Linked DNA regions of Homo sapiens: all the other regions are linked to region 2. The links are contacts of gene promoters, found by promoter capture Hi-C in blood cells and fetal thymus (Javierre and others, 2016). All regions are on one chromosome and are shown on one strand. Each heading gives the region's core, a stretch centred on a gene start or on the middle of the fragment in contact. The rest is flanking DNA. Distances are from core to core; before and after follow the strand shown.

Region 1 (4,502 bases), core at 784-3,283, 290 kb after region 2:
GAATTTTTTTTTTTTTTAGACGGAGTCTCACTCTGTCCCCCAGGCTGGAGTGCAATGACATGATCTAGGCTCACTGCAACCTCCGCCTCCCGGGTTCAAGTGATTCCCCTGCCTCAGCCTCCCGAGTAGCTGGGACTACAGGTGCGTGCCACCACGCCCGATTAATTTTTTGTATTTTAGTAGAGACAGGGTTTCACCATGTTGGTCAGGCTGGTCTCCAACTCCTGACCTCGTGATCTGCCCACCTCGGACTTCCAAAGTGCTGGGATTACAAGCGTGAGCCACCGTGCCCAGTCCAGATAGGAATCTTTTTTTTTTTTGTCTCCTTTTGTATTTAATATTATTGAAGACTCTATTAATGTCTTAAAAAACACAAAAAGTTCTTGAACATACATTTATTATCTGGAGGAATGAATGCACTCCAAATGCTTATTATCAGAACTCTGGAAAAAGACATATAAATTCTCTCCAGTATTTTAAAAATTGGTATCTAAATTTCATTTTGAACTAGGTTAGTTACCTAAGCTATCTTCATTCAGCTTTTAAAACTGAAAAAAAATTTAAGTTTCAAATATAATAAAGACTTAAGTACATATTCAACATTTATTTTCTATTACACTTTTCTGGCCAAAAGGAGTTGAAGAGTTTTTTTCCTTATCTTACTTATGACAAACGTTGTCAGATTTAAAAAAAAAAAAACAAAATATAACAGAATAGTAGTTGTGAAGACTAACTCTATATGAATGGTTTTAATCATAATGCAGTTAAAATAACATTTAATATAGATTCATTTCACTGGATGATGTCACCTTTTAAAACACCAGTATTTCTCATATCATTTCTGTATGGTCTTGACACATTCTTATATCTTCTTCAACATGACTTCTTCACTTTTTTCTCTAGAGTTTTCTTGAATTAAAATAATGGCTTGAAGAAGATCATATGAGATTTAGTGGCCCTGTGATATTTCTTAAATGCTGGGCAAAGCTGGTTGATAATGTAACTCATTAAAATGAGCTGTATTTTCAGTGCCCCAGGCTGGCCGGGCAGTCTGATAGAAGGCCTTAGTTCCTCTTGCAGATAAAGACTAGAGTCCATTCTTCCACTAGTCCAGGGCAGTGGCCTAAAAAATACAGAAGGCCCGGTGCGGTGGCTCACACCTATAATCCCAGCACTTTGGGAGGCTGAGCCGGGCGGATCATGAGGTCAGGAGTTCAAGACCAGCCTGACCAACATGGTGAAACCCTGTCTCTACTAAAAATACAAAAAAATTAGCCAGGCGTGGTGGTGCACGCCTGTAATCCCAGCTACTCAGGAGGCTGAGGCAGGAGAATCACTTGAACCAGGGAGGCGGAGGTTGCAGTGAGCCAAGATTGCACCACTGCACTCCAGCCTGAGCTCCGTCTAAAAAAAAAAAAAAAAAAAAATGTCCAGGAAAGGCATTACACGGAATGCCATTGTTTAGAAGAGATTTGGATTTAATGGTGTTGTTATAGGTAAAGTATTTCCGGAGCAAAAATCTCATTCATTCAGTGTTTGGGGGAAGGTTAAACTTTATAATCACAGTTGCCTTTCTCTGGGGAAAAGATTTATTTTTATTTTTATTTATTTTACTTTAAGTTTTGGGAGAAAAAGGTTTCTTTAATTTGCTATGATCACTTCCTCTCAATTTCTTTTTCTTACAGTCATGCATACTCTGTAATCTAAATTTCTTAAGTTTATTTAAAAATCAGAGGAAAAAAACCTAAGGAGATAAAAACGAGCACAAAGTAAACAAAGAAACAAATAATTTTGCCATTATACTTTCTCCTGGATAACTGCAGATATTTCTTGTCATTTCCATTCTGTTTCAACACTACAGAACAATATACTCATGGCCCAATGGTGAAGCAATGTGCACATGAGTGACAAAACATGGGAACTAGAAAAGGAATATAAATGTAAATCAAGCTTTTAAAATCCCAGTAATGCAACAACTTCTTTCCTTATTTATTGGATCAAAGTCCATTCCACATGAATTCACATTTTGGTTCCAGGAGGCCATGCACCATAAGCCCTAATAACAAAGACCACTATTTGTAGAGCCTGTGACCAGTATCTACTGGTGGCAAGCTTGCAAAAGTCTTCTGGAAGACTCATAAGATTATGTTGTACTTGTTTTCTGGATTCGGGGGACCATGGAAATAGAAAATGATAGAAACGAGGCATGCTTTTGAGGTTTCTTGGGCTGGGTAGTAGAAAAATAGGTGTTTTCCTGTGGGATTTTTTTGCAGCTGAGAATACTTCGTCATTTTCCTCAGTCTTTAAGGGAGTGGTAGGCTTTGACAGTCCAGCTGTTGACAAAATCTGTCTTCTTAAACTGAGCCTTCTTGTAGGCATGATGGAGTTCCGTGTGTGCCTACAGAGAATACAGGAGGATGGAAGCAGCTTTACTTGCTTTGTTGGAGGCATAGGCATCGCCTGCACTGATGGTCATAATTTTCTGGATGCCCCCGGTATTCGGAAGGCGCTGTGCATTCTGGTAACTGTTTTGGATTACGTTGTTCAACATGTAACAGGCAGAGGCTGTAGTTTCAATGAGAAGGTCAGTACTCGGGACTGTATCAGGAATGATGGAGACCAAACTGGGGAGAGTTTCTTTGGCAATTTTATTCTGCAGAGAAAGATTCTGGGACAGATTCCTCAGCAGCAAGTTGGCTGTCTTTTTCACACTTGGGTCACTGACATGCACCATCTTTCGGGTGTGCTGCAGGCCATTTTCCTTCTGGACGACTGTCTGAGCCACTGATGTCGGCATTGGTCCACTTCCGGCTGTGAGGTTCTGGAGAGCGCCTAAGGAGGCTTCCTGTGTGTAGTTTGGGACACTCTTGGCGATCAAGGACAGATACATCCTTATCACAATGGAGTGTCACAGCCACTCCACGCCCTTGGGGTTGCTCTTTTCCTCTGGCATCGGCATGTCCTAGTATTGCTCTTTTAGTTTCCTGCTTCGACTGCCAAAACATCCAATACTTTTGTTGTTAGTCTGGACATTTGGGTTTTGAATATAGATATTCTGGGAATATTTCTCTGGGAGCTCTACCTCCAGCTGGTAGGAGAGGTTATGAAGAATGTGCACACAATTCTCCGTGGCCTTGTCATCTGGCTGGTAATCCGCAATGGTTCCTCTGACATAATGGACCAGTGAGTCAATGAGTCGGTCACATCTTCTCATTGCTTTTCTCCTATCAGGGCCAGCAGCACTCATGTTTCTTAGACATCCAGTGGGTTGTAGACTGTGTCAAAATCGAGCAAACCATTCGCTTTTGGGTAGTCTCCTTCAGGCCATCCAGAAAAGGAGATGATTATATTCTCGGTCAGCATAAGCAATGCTTCTGTTATCATGAGATTCTTGAGTTTGTCATTAGATGACAAATTCCACAGCAAACCTGTTAGTTGTTTTTTAGTCTCCAAGACTCTGGTTTGCTTCAGCACCTGGAGCAGCCGAGTTACCCCATTTAGTTCAGCCACCTCCAATTTGTTGTCATTGTCTTCAAATAGTAAGTTTCTCAAGGCCCCCCACACAGCTCGCTGAACATCTTCATTCTGAACTTTTAGGAGCTGCAGAAGCTTGGGGATGCCACAAAACTGGTTAACCCTCTTCCCAGCTTCAGATTTCTGGAAGCACTCGTGCTGTATGAAAGTGGCTGCGGCAGAAATCCTGGACGGCGGCATCTGGTCTGCATCGAGCATACTCCCTGCTCGCTCCAGAGTCATCTCCATGTCTGCATTCCCCAGCTGGGAGTCAGTGCTTCTCTGGGTGAGAAGATTCCCACTTCCCCCTGCCGCTGCCTGGCCGACGGTCAAGTGCGCTCTCCTCCCGCTGGAATCCACGGCAACACTGGGCCCAGCTTTCCTCGGTGTGCGGGTGCTGTGGAAGGAGCTCCGGTGCCAGGAGGACCTGGAAGCCCTGTTCTGAGTGAGGGGCCGCAGGGGCACCAGCGGCCTGACCTGGCCGACGGTGAGCCCTGCCCTCAGGTAGTTCTCTTTCTCCAAGAGGTTGCCCATGCTGCGGCTGGTCCCTGGCCTGGGGTACGTGAGCAGGGCCGGGTTGGCAGGGATGCTGTCAAAAACGGTGTCACTAACAGAGCCACGCTGGTACTGCCTGTGGTGTCAAAGTGGTGCTGCCTGCTTGTGGTGCCAGTACGGCGGACCCCCGCGATCTCAGAACGATCATATCTCGGTGGCACCAGGAAGGCGGCCCGCCTGCTTTCTTGGTGGTGCAGGGTGTGCCCAGCCTGGCTTCTCTGGCTGTACTGGTAATCGCTGTGCGTGTAGTGAGCCCTCTCCGGGCTGCTGTCAGGAGAAATCTCCAGTCTCCTCAGAGGATGCCTCAAATACCTTTCTTCCACGGACTTCTGGGAGCTGTACTGTGCTGTTCCTCTTCCCCAGCGACCTTCATAAGTGGCAGTTGTGCCAGCCTTTAGCATGTAATAGGTTTTAGGAACAGGGGAACGGCCTCC
Region 2 (4,461 bases), core at 1,962-4,461:
ACCACAAATGGCTTGCAGCCCCTAAGTCCCTGCAGCCCCAGTTCTCCCTCTGTAGTGAGCTTAGAGGTGTGTGAACTGAATAAGGTGGCCACAGCTTAGAGACAGAATAGGGGCCCTAGGGTCCTTACATTAGGGCCATGAAGGGGTTGAGACCAAACACCTCCTTCCCCAAGACCCAAGGTGAGGTGGGAAAGGGATGAAGAAGCAGGAGCGGGCAACCAGGGTAATGATCCCCACCCCCATCAAGTTCTCCCAAACCTCACTGGCTGAAGAGTTCAGCTCAGCAAAGCAAATCCTCTCCATCTGCTTGCAGCCTCAGTGCCCCGCCCCCTCCTGTGTCCCTCCGCCTCCCTTGCCTGCCCCGCCACTGCCCGCCCAGCTCTGCCTTTTGTCTACCTCTGGGGCCTTTTCCTGAGGACTCTCTCTCCTGGGCATCCCTCCCAGCTTCCCCTTCAGCTTCTAAGGTCTTTGTTTCTCTCCATCTGTGTCTCCCTAATCCTCAGGCCCCTACTTGGCCAAACACTACACCTTAGCACATTCCCAGCACCCCTCCCACTTTCTGCCCTCCCCGCCCCAAAACAGTTCAAGTAGTTTCCTCTATCCCTGCCTCCCATGGTGTATGCATGGGTGTAGTGGAAGTAGCCATTTACGGTGGAAATGTAGGTGAAGTAGAAGAGAAAACAAGGAGGGGAAGAGTAGCAGGCGTGGGAAACAAGGAGAGAGCAACAAACAAGGTCTGTGACTGGGGTGGGATAGGAATGGAGAAGAGGGAGGGACCAGTCTAGGAGACCCTCCCACCAGCCAGCCCCTCTCCTTCACCCCAAGATCCTAGCAGGCATAGGTTGACGTCCTGTGCTGATATGGCACATCTGAGTCCCTTCTGGACACTACACTAGCCTCCCAATTCAGATTCCAGTGCTCTCCCCACCCACTCCTTGGCAGGCACAGTGTAACACGGTAGGTGTCCTTGTGTGATCTGATCTGGTGTTGGTGTGCCACGCTGTGTATCTGATTCCATGTGAATGGAAGTCTCCTGTGTGAGATCACCCTGGGCGGGGGGGTCCTTTCTGGAACAGGATAGGGGATAGGAGAGGAGCCTGGTGCAGAACGGCTGCCCTGGGGGGCACTCAATTCCCTTCTCCCTTTAAGGGTAGCTCAGAACTCTTCACTCTCACTCCAGAGAGGGTGCCCTTCCACCCCACCGTGAGGTCTTCATTTCTGTGCCACAAGGTCAGTATGGCATTTCCACTACCTAGGGGGCTCTTCCCTACGTCCTGGGCCAGGAGAGCAAAGAGCTGGTCAGCTTCTCTCTGGGGGCCCCAGCACCAAAAGTCTGTATGGCCCTGGCCTGACTTTCCCATCTGGGCTGATGCAGGGAGGGAGAATACCAGAGACCAAAGTTCAAGGGGCCGGGCCCTCTCCTCCCCTGTTCTGTCCTTCTGGTCACTGTCCTTCCATGATCCCTTTTCCAGGAGAATATGTGACCTGGGCCCTAGGTCTTCTGCTAAGCAGCCCTCTGGCCTCATTTACTCAACACAGGCACACACACCGACACCGGCCGACAGCCATGCACAGACACAGTTAGAGAGGAGCACCCACGCGATGGGAGACACATGGCCCAGCGTTGGGCCATTCTGGTCCACACTCTTGAGACAGCACGGGAGCACAGCGGAGCCACTCAGCACTCACAAAGCGACAACATGGCTCCAGAACATCTACGTCTCCACATGCACACATGTAACTGACACGGGCAGTCCCACACACTCGCTGGATTTCAGACATACAAAGACACCTACTCAGTGAAGTCACATGCCACCGCACAGCCCGCCGGAGGGCCACACGGGCGCACCTTGGCAGATCGCACACAGCCCCTCTCCCACCGCCGTTAATCCCATTGGCTCCCCCCGTTTCACTCCGCGGGCCTCCGGGAGACCTGTGTGACGGCCCCTCAGCAACCACCGCGCCCCCCCCCCCCGCCATACACATACACACACAAGATAGGGCTCCCAGCCCCCAAACCCCGGCCGCGTTAATTTCCCAAAGCGACACTCCGCAGGTTCCCTGGGGAAATTAGAGGAAGGCTGGAAGAGAGGCAAGGGCGAACGGATGGGGCCGGGGAAGGGAGCTGATGAGGGCGAGGACAGCTCGACGCAATGCCATGCAATGCCCAGCCTCGGCTTTTTCGAAGGCTAGTCCTGCCCCGCTTCTAATTTTTAGGAATTCGAGATTCTTTCAGTGTGTATGCGGGAAGGGGACGATGAAGAGAAAAGAAAGCTGAAAGCCAGCTGAGGGGAGGGAACGAGAAAACAGAGGCGGCCGCCGTCCGGGGAGAGAAGCGAGCGACGGTCGGGCCGCGGGGAGGGGCCCGGAGGAGCAGCCTCCAGGGAGAGTCCTGTTTACACTTGAGGATCTCAAACCGCTTAGCGAGGAAAGGTGAGGTCAGGTTGCAAGCAAAGACGCGGCAGCGGGGCGCAGGGAGGGGGCGCGGCAAAGTGAGACTCGGGGCGTTCGGACGGGAAGCCGGACGGGATCCGGTCAGCGAGGTGGGGCCGAAGAGGGGTGGGGACGGCTGCGGGGGACGGCGCGACCGGAGCGGCGAGGCCGGGCGCCGTGGTGCGCGCAGGGCAGCTAGAGGGCGCTGGCGCTAGCCGCGCGGAGCCGGGAAAGGAGCTCCGGGCCGGGGAGCGGTGGGAGGGCGCAGTGGGGTCCGCCAGGACCCGGGCGCAAGGGCCGCGCGGGGCCGTCGGGGGCGGCCTGGGGCGAAGGACCGCGCCGGGCCCCAGGGCTGCGCGAGGTCCGGGCCGCCGCCGCCCCCGCCCGTACCTTGGCGCTCAACTCGGCCGCTGCCTCCACGCTTTTCTCCGACATGGTGCCGGGGCCGGGGCCGGGGCTGGCGGGGAGCCGGGGTCCCGGGGCCGAGACGGAGGGGCCCTGGACGGCGGAGGGTGGCCGCGGCCGGAACCTGGCGCGGTGGCGGCGGCGGCGGCGACAGCGGCAGCGGCGGCCGCTCGGCAAGCTGGGTCTCTGGAAGAGGCGGCAGAGGCGCGCGGGGTGGGGCGGGGGTGGGTCTGGAGCGGAGACCCGCAGGGCTGCGGCCGTCCGGAGGGCGGGCGGAAGGGCGGTGCAGGCGGTGGCCGGCGCGCTCGGCCGCGGTAGCTCGATCCCGGGCTCGCCGCCCCCGCACCAGCAGAGCTGCCGCCGACCAGCCGCTGCCGCCCCCGGGAAGGGAACCCGCTTATAAGGCGGCGCTGCCCGACGGGAGGGGCTTCCCAGGGGTGGGGCAGGCGGGAGCGGGGAGGAGAGGAGAGGGGAGGGGGATGAAAGAGGAGGTTGGAGAGGTGGGGATAGGAGGATGAAAGCGAGGGGAGGGAGAGCTAGGGAGTCGGGAGGGAGGACGAGACCAGGAGGGGGAAATGGAGAGACTGACGGCCGCGGAGAAAGAGTGGGGCGAGGAGGTGGGAAGGGGTGGGGTTCCTGCGGGGAGGCACCTTTCCAAATCCCAACCTACTGCCTGCGAATGTGGAGTCTGGCTTTTGGGGGCGGACTGGAGAGGTGGCCAGAATCCTACTGACCCCAAAAAAAGCCCTGGGATTTTGCCAAGGGGTGGGGTGAGGGGAGCAGATGGGAAGATAGGGCAGGTATTTGAGAAACCAAAAGCTTAAAGAAGAGGAAGAGGGTTCGGGCGCTCCTTCCACACCACGCCGGATTTCCCCCTCTCATCCTCCATCCACATTCTCTGGATGGCCTTGAGGAGGGATGGGAGGGCAGAAAGGGCGGCCCAGCCTTCTGTCCCGCCAGATTGACACTTGTGACCCTTGCCGGGTGCCTCCCTTCCTGGCCCCGTGCTGTGAGCCGGGGGGAGTCAGGCCCCCTGGTCTCCTTTGCTGTCTTCCAGCTCTCTTCCATCTTCTACCTCTCTTATTCGCCCGTCTCACCTCACTTTTATTCGCCTGGTCCTTCTATTTCTCTTCATCCGTCCTCAGTCATCTGTACCTAGACCCCTCCTTCACAACCAATTATAACTCGAATCGCTCCCATTCTTCTCTCACCTCTTCTCCACTCCTCACTGACTCTCTTCTGCCCTTCCACCTCTGGTCTCTTTCCCTATCTTTCCCAGACAACCCTGCTCTTGTCTTATCTGAGTCAGGCACCTGGCCCTCTATTCTTGGCTGGCTTTCCTCAACTCCTCTTTCTGTCCTCATTTTTTACATTTTCCATCCTTCAGCTTTTCTCATTCCTCTGCTGCCATCTTCCCTAGCCTTTCTGGGTTATATTTGCCTCCTTTGCAAATATAATACAGGTCCAGGTCTGGAGTTCCAGCCCCACCCTATTCCACACATCCTCAGCTCCTCGCCCTCAATCTCGGTATCTTTGAGTCATTTTGAAAAGCTTGGGATTTCAGAAGGGAACAGGGGCTGGGTTGTGTATTAAAGGTCAGGAAGGTGGACAGAGTGGAAGGCT
Region 3 (4,741 bases), core at 976-3,475, 310 kb after region 2:
CTCGATGTGTCCCAAGCCTGGAGCGAATCCGTCCTCTTGGCTCTCCCAGCCCTATCACAGGAATCATTCCTGGGTTTCTGTCCCTCTGAGGCTCACCAGGTGTAGTTGGCCTTGTTCTTTGGGGGTATTAGCCCTTCTACTTTCTTTCTCACCCACCCTGTACCCTCTTCTGTGTGTCTCTGCTATCCCCCTTTCCTCCCACCACCCATGTGCATGAGCAAATGTGCAACAAAACCCTGGGACTTTGCAGTCAAATGAAGCTGAGCTTCCCACATCCCGTTCTTCGGTTTGCCATGAGACGATGTGGGGTTTCCACTGTGTGTCTGTCATCACCTCTTTGTCTTTTTTTCCTAACCCTGATCTCATACTTGTATAGAGTAATAACAACAGTTGTACTTCCACCAAAGGCATGTGGCATATTTACCAATGTCATGTATTCTGAACAAAGGCAAAAAATACAAATTCCTACCATTAAACTGGCTTGGTTGTTGTTTGGGTTGGAGTAGCTGTGGGGGCTTGGGGAAGGGTGTCGTTTCTTTCTAGTAGTCTCATGTCGCTTTAGGTCAGCTGGGCTGGCTTACACGCGCTGTGCGGTCTTCATGGAGATGGGAGCTCTGTGTGTCAGCACAGGAAGTGGTCTCCCAGCGTTCAGCCTGAAGCAGCCCAAGTCCTGTAGGTGCTGGTAAGAGGAAGTGAAGACAGGAAGTTGCGTGGGCATCTCACACTGGCAAACAAGCACAGGTTCCCTCAGGCCTCTTCCATCTGCCTCCTGTGCTCCTTCCTAGGTCCTTGGCCTGCTTGTCCTGTCCCAGGGGATGTGCCCAGATAAGGCTGTCAGTGAACACCCCCTTACCCCCTTTTCCCCATCATCCTCACGTACAGTTTTGGTATGCTGAGTTCCACCGTATTGATTAGGCACATTTTAGAAACGAATAAAAAGGAGAAGTCTCTCCTTGCAGCTGAGGGAGTGAGGCATTTGCAGGTATCCTGAACCTCCCAGCAGTCACCCGAGGGAGCAGAACCCTAATTGCAGCTGAGGTGCAACTGAGATGGAGCCACGGGGGTGCCTCTGAGGGCCTTTGTTTCATACTTAAACACTTTGCAAGTTGGAGCCGCTAGGCTTGGTGACAGGGCTCAGTTGGGACCAGTGTGGAGAAAGACAGGAAAGTGGAAAAGCTTGGTCGCAGCAGACACAAGGGCCTTTTATTTTGACAGAGCTGAGTTTGGGAGGGGTAGCCCAGCCCCAACCCATGCCTCATTGTCCCTCACTTGTTCCTTCTCCATTTCCTCCAGCTTTGTTTTCCTACCGTCACACCACCAACCTGGCTCTTTGGTCTTATCCTCCATCTGGACATTCTGCCTTCTTCTTGTCCCCTCACTTCTTCCTGTTCTCTGCCTTGGTGCATGAGCCCAGGGTGCACAGTGAAGGAAGGCAGAGGCCTCTGCAGAGCCAGGCCCAGTGCCCCATGAGCTGGTGCCACCTTCATGTATTTTTAGCTCTGTGACTTGACTTAGAGTCCTTCTGGGAGCACGTGACTACTCTTTCTTTCTACTCTGAGGCAGGAGAGTGACAGACTTTAGTGAGGTAGCTAGGAGAAAACGAGGGAACACGACTGGTTTCATTTTCATTTAGGGCAAACTCAAAAGCAGGAGGCTGTGATGGGTGGGTGGCTGGAGCTTGGGGCATCTGGGCTTCCACCCTGGTCTGGGCGGGGGGGTGGTTAGAGTGGGTGAGGTGGGCCAGGGCCAGAGCCAAGGGCACCCAGGCTCTTACCTTGCCGTCTCTGAAGCCCCAGGAACATCAGTGCAAGAAGGAAGAGACTGCTGGCAAAGATGACTCCCAAGGCTGTTCTCCGCTCTGTAGGTGAGAGCAACGTGGGCGGGGATCATCGTGCGCAGGAATCATGAGCTGAGCCCTCACCTGCAGTGTCCACCCCAGGGAGGAGGAGCTAAGGATTGTGTGTGTGAGTCCCTGGTTGAGGAGCCTGGAACAAGGCACTCAGCAGCATTTGTTCTTATTCAAGGTTGCTGGATACTTGTGAGTTACTCCACACAGAATTCTCTACCTCTTCCCACCTAAGGACAAGGTTTTAAAAATTGCTTTGCAAGTGAGATTTAGGTGGGTTTATTTGTTAGCACTTAACTTGCCTGGACACAGTGGCTCATGCCTGTAATCCCAGAACTTTGGGAGGCTGAGGTAGGTGGATCACCTGAGGTCAGGAGTTCGAGACCAGCCTGGGCAACATGGTGAAACCCTGTCTGTACAAAAAATACAAAAAATTAACTGGGCATGTTGGTGTGCGCCTGTGGTCCCAGGTACTTGGGAGGCTGAGGTGGGAGAATCACTTGAGCCTGGGAGGCAGAGTTTGCAGTGAGCTGAGATCGTGCCACTGCACTCCAGCCTGGGCGACAGAGTGAGACCCTATCTCAAAACAAAACAAAATAAAACAAAGCAAAACAAAAAACCACCAGTTAACTGGGATTTTGTAAATAGTTGGGGAATGATGTGAGCTGAAGTGAAACCTCAGTTTTGGGGAAGTTCACAGTCTAATGAGCAACCAAATAATGCCCAGTGCTCCTGGATGTTTCCACTTCAAGTTGCGGGTTCTTTCCTGTCCCTTTCCTGCTTAAAACCTCTCGACAGGCAGGGTGCGGTGGCTCATATCTGTAATCCCAGCACTTTGGGAAGCCGAGGCGGACAGATCACCTGAGGTCAGGAGTTTGAGACCAGCCTGGCCATCATGGCGAAACCCCATCTCTACTAAAAACGCAAAATTAGCCAGGCGTGGTGGTGCGCGCCTGTAATCCCAGCTACTTGGGAGGCTGAGGCAAGAGGATGGCTTGAACCCAGGATATGGAGGTTGCAGTGAGCTGAGATCATACCACTGCACTCCAGCCTGGGGAACAGAGCAAGATTCTGTATCGAAAAAAAGTAAAATAAAATAAAATAAATAAATAAATAAATAAATAAATAAATAAATAAATAAAACCTTTCAACAGCATGCTATGGCTCTCAGGAAGTTCCAGCTTGAAGGCCCAGTGAGATCTACAGGGTTTAATTAAGCCCGTAAGGGGAATCCGGTTGCCTGTTTTTCACATTCTCTCTTTACCATTGATTGATAGGTGACCTTGGGCAAATTCATTGACATCTGCAAGTGCCAGTTTACTCACCTGTAAAATGGGAGTCATGATCCATGAAATCATACATTTAAGTGCTTTCTACACTGCTTGATTCATGTAAATGCTCAATAAATAGAATTACCTCCGAAGCTTCAGAGCCACTTTCCCTTTTTCCCATATACCCTAAGCTCTAGCTGTGCTGAATTACTTGCAATTCTCCAAATTCTCTTTAGGCTGTTTTATGATTTGGCTTTCATATATGCTATTGTTTCTATCTTGAGTGTTCCCTTCCCTCTAAGCTAGTTAACTTGGCTCAAATGCCATCTTCTCTGTCTACTTAGTCTTGTCTCTATTACTGGACTAAGCTCCTGGAGGGCATGATCAGGAATTATTCATCTGTGATCTCCAGCCTTAAGCACATTGCCTGACACCCTGGAGGCTGGAGTATAATGAAGTCTCAGGGGATGTGTGGTAGAAGCTGTGGCAGCTGCCGCCTTGGGAAAATAGTCAGGAGCAGAGGCAGGAGCATGAAGCCAGGGCTGCGAACAAAGTGGATGGGCAGCAGAACAAGGCCATAGATGAGCTGGGGCAGGAGAGCCATGAGCCCTAGTGTGGAGGTGGGGAAAAGGAGGACACTCCCAGTACCTGGTGGGACAACCTGGGTGCTGGCCCCAAGGGGCTCCTCCAGAGAGATGTGTGTGACCTGGCAGGTGTAAGTGGCACCTGCAGAGCCAGGTTCTGCGGTGAGAGAGGAGGAGATGCTGTAGGTGCCTGCCACGCTTTGCCTGAGGCTGGAGAAGGAGGCACCAGAGACTTGGGCTGGGGATCCACCCAGCTCCTCTCGGGTCCACGTCACCACCACATCCAGAGGGTAATAGCCAGCAATGTCGCAGATGAGGGTGGGCAGCAGAGCTTCGTTTGCCAAGCTCAGTCGTACTTTAGGGGAAGCTGGAGAAAGAATGAGGAATAAGATTACACATGGATCTAACTGGGGACAGCGGAGGAGCCTGAAGCCTTTTCTTCCTGCCAAGATGAGAGTAGATTGTGGAGGCTACAGTGTCCCTTGGTGGTGTACCAAGGCGGGGGTGTGTGAGGGGCCCACCTGGATGCAGGCCGTAAGGGGGCAGGGTTACATTTTCCAGAAAACAGATAGTAAAGCCAACTAAAGATTGGCTGGCTTCTTACTGTCATTCTAAGCCAGTTTTTTTTTTTTTTTTAAGATGGTGTCTTGCTCTGTCGCCCAAGCTGGAGTGCAGTGGCATGATCTTGGCTCACCGCAACCTCCACCTCCGGGGTTCAAGCGATTCTTCTGCCTCAGCCTCCTGAGTAGCTGGGACTACAGGCGCGCACCACCATGCCTAGCTATTTTTTGTATTTTTAGTAGAGACGGAGTTTCACCGTATTGGCCAGGCTGGTCTTGAACTCCTGACCTCGTGATCCGCCTCCCAAAGTGCTGGGATTATAGGTGTGAGCCACCGCGCCCGGCCTCTAAGCCAGAGATTTTAAAGGATAGCAGTGATAATGGTCAGAACCGCTTCCACTGCTCTGCCTTGGTTTGCTGCTGCTGCTCCTCAGGATGTGGTCCAAAAGGACTGGGGTGATGGAGACAGCCAGCCACAGC

The links. The method cuts DNA at HindIII sites, captures the fragments that hold promoters and counts their contacts. A CHiCAGO score of 5 or more calls a contact.
Region 1: a fragment that was not itself captured here is called in contact with the fragment with the promoter of PTMS in region 2 in 5 of 17 cell types (naive CD4 T cells, activated CD4 T cells, non-activated CD4 T cells and 2 more); the score reaches 7.2 in naive CD4 T cells.
Region 3: a fragment that was not itself captured here is called in contact with the fragment with the promoter of PTMS in region 2 in 2 of 17 cell types (activated CD4 T cells and total CD8 T cells); the score reaches 6.7 in activated CD4 T cells.

Annotation. Positions count from the first base shown.
Region 1 is chr12:6,478,005-6,482,506 of GRCh38, reverse strand. It overlaps the pseudogene PKP2P1. Among named protein-coding and RNA genes, the nearest start is that of VAMP1, 9.6 kb to the right of the region's middle. The HindIII fragment of the contact is 162 bases long and covers 1,953-2,114 here.
Region 2 is chr12:6,765,113-6,769,573 of GRCh38, reverse strand. It overlaps PTMS (parathymosin), which reads right to left and starts at 3,211. Exons shown (of 5, transcript NM_002824.6): 1 at 2,824-3,211. The coding sequence starts at 2,868. RefSeq lists silencers at 2,407-2,906, 3,017-3,346. The HindIII fragment of the contact is 8,838 bases long and covers 1-3,659 here.
Region 3 is chr12:6,457,972-6,462,712 of GRCh38, reverse strand. It overlaps TAPBPL (TAP binding protein like), which reads right to left. Exons shown (of 7, transcript NM_018009.5): 5 at 3,766-4,068; 6 at 1,775-1,858; 7 at 397-679. The coding sequence ends at 564. It overlaps VAMP1 (vesicle associated membrane protein 1), which reads left to right. Exons shown (of 5, transcript NM_014231.5): 5 at 1-476. Among named protein-coding and RNA genes, the nearest start is that of TAPBPL, 8.3 kb to the right of the region's middle. The HindIII fragment of the contact is 2,094 bases long and covers 1,179-3,272 here.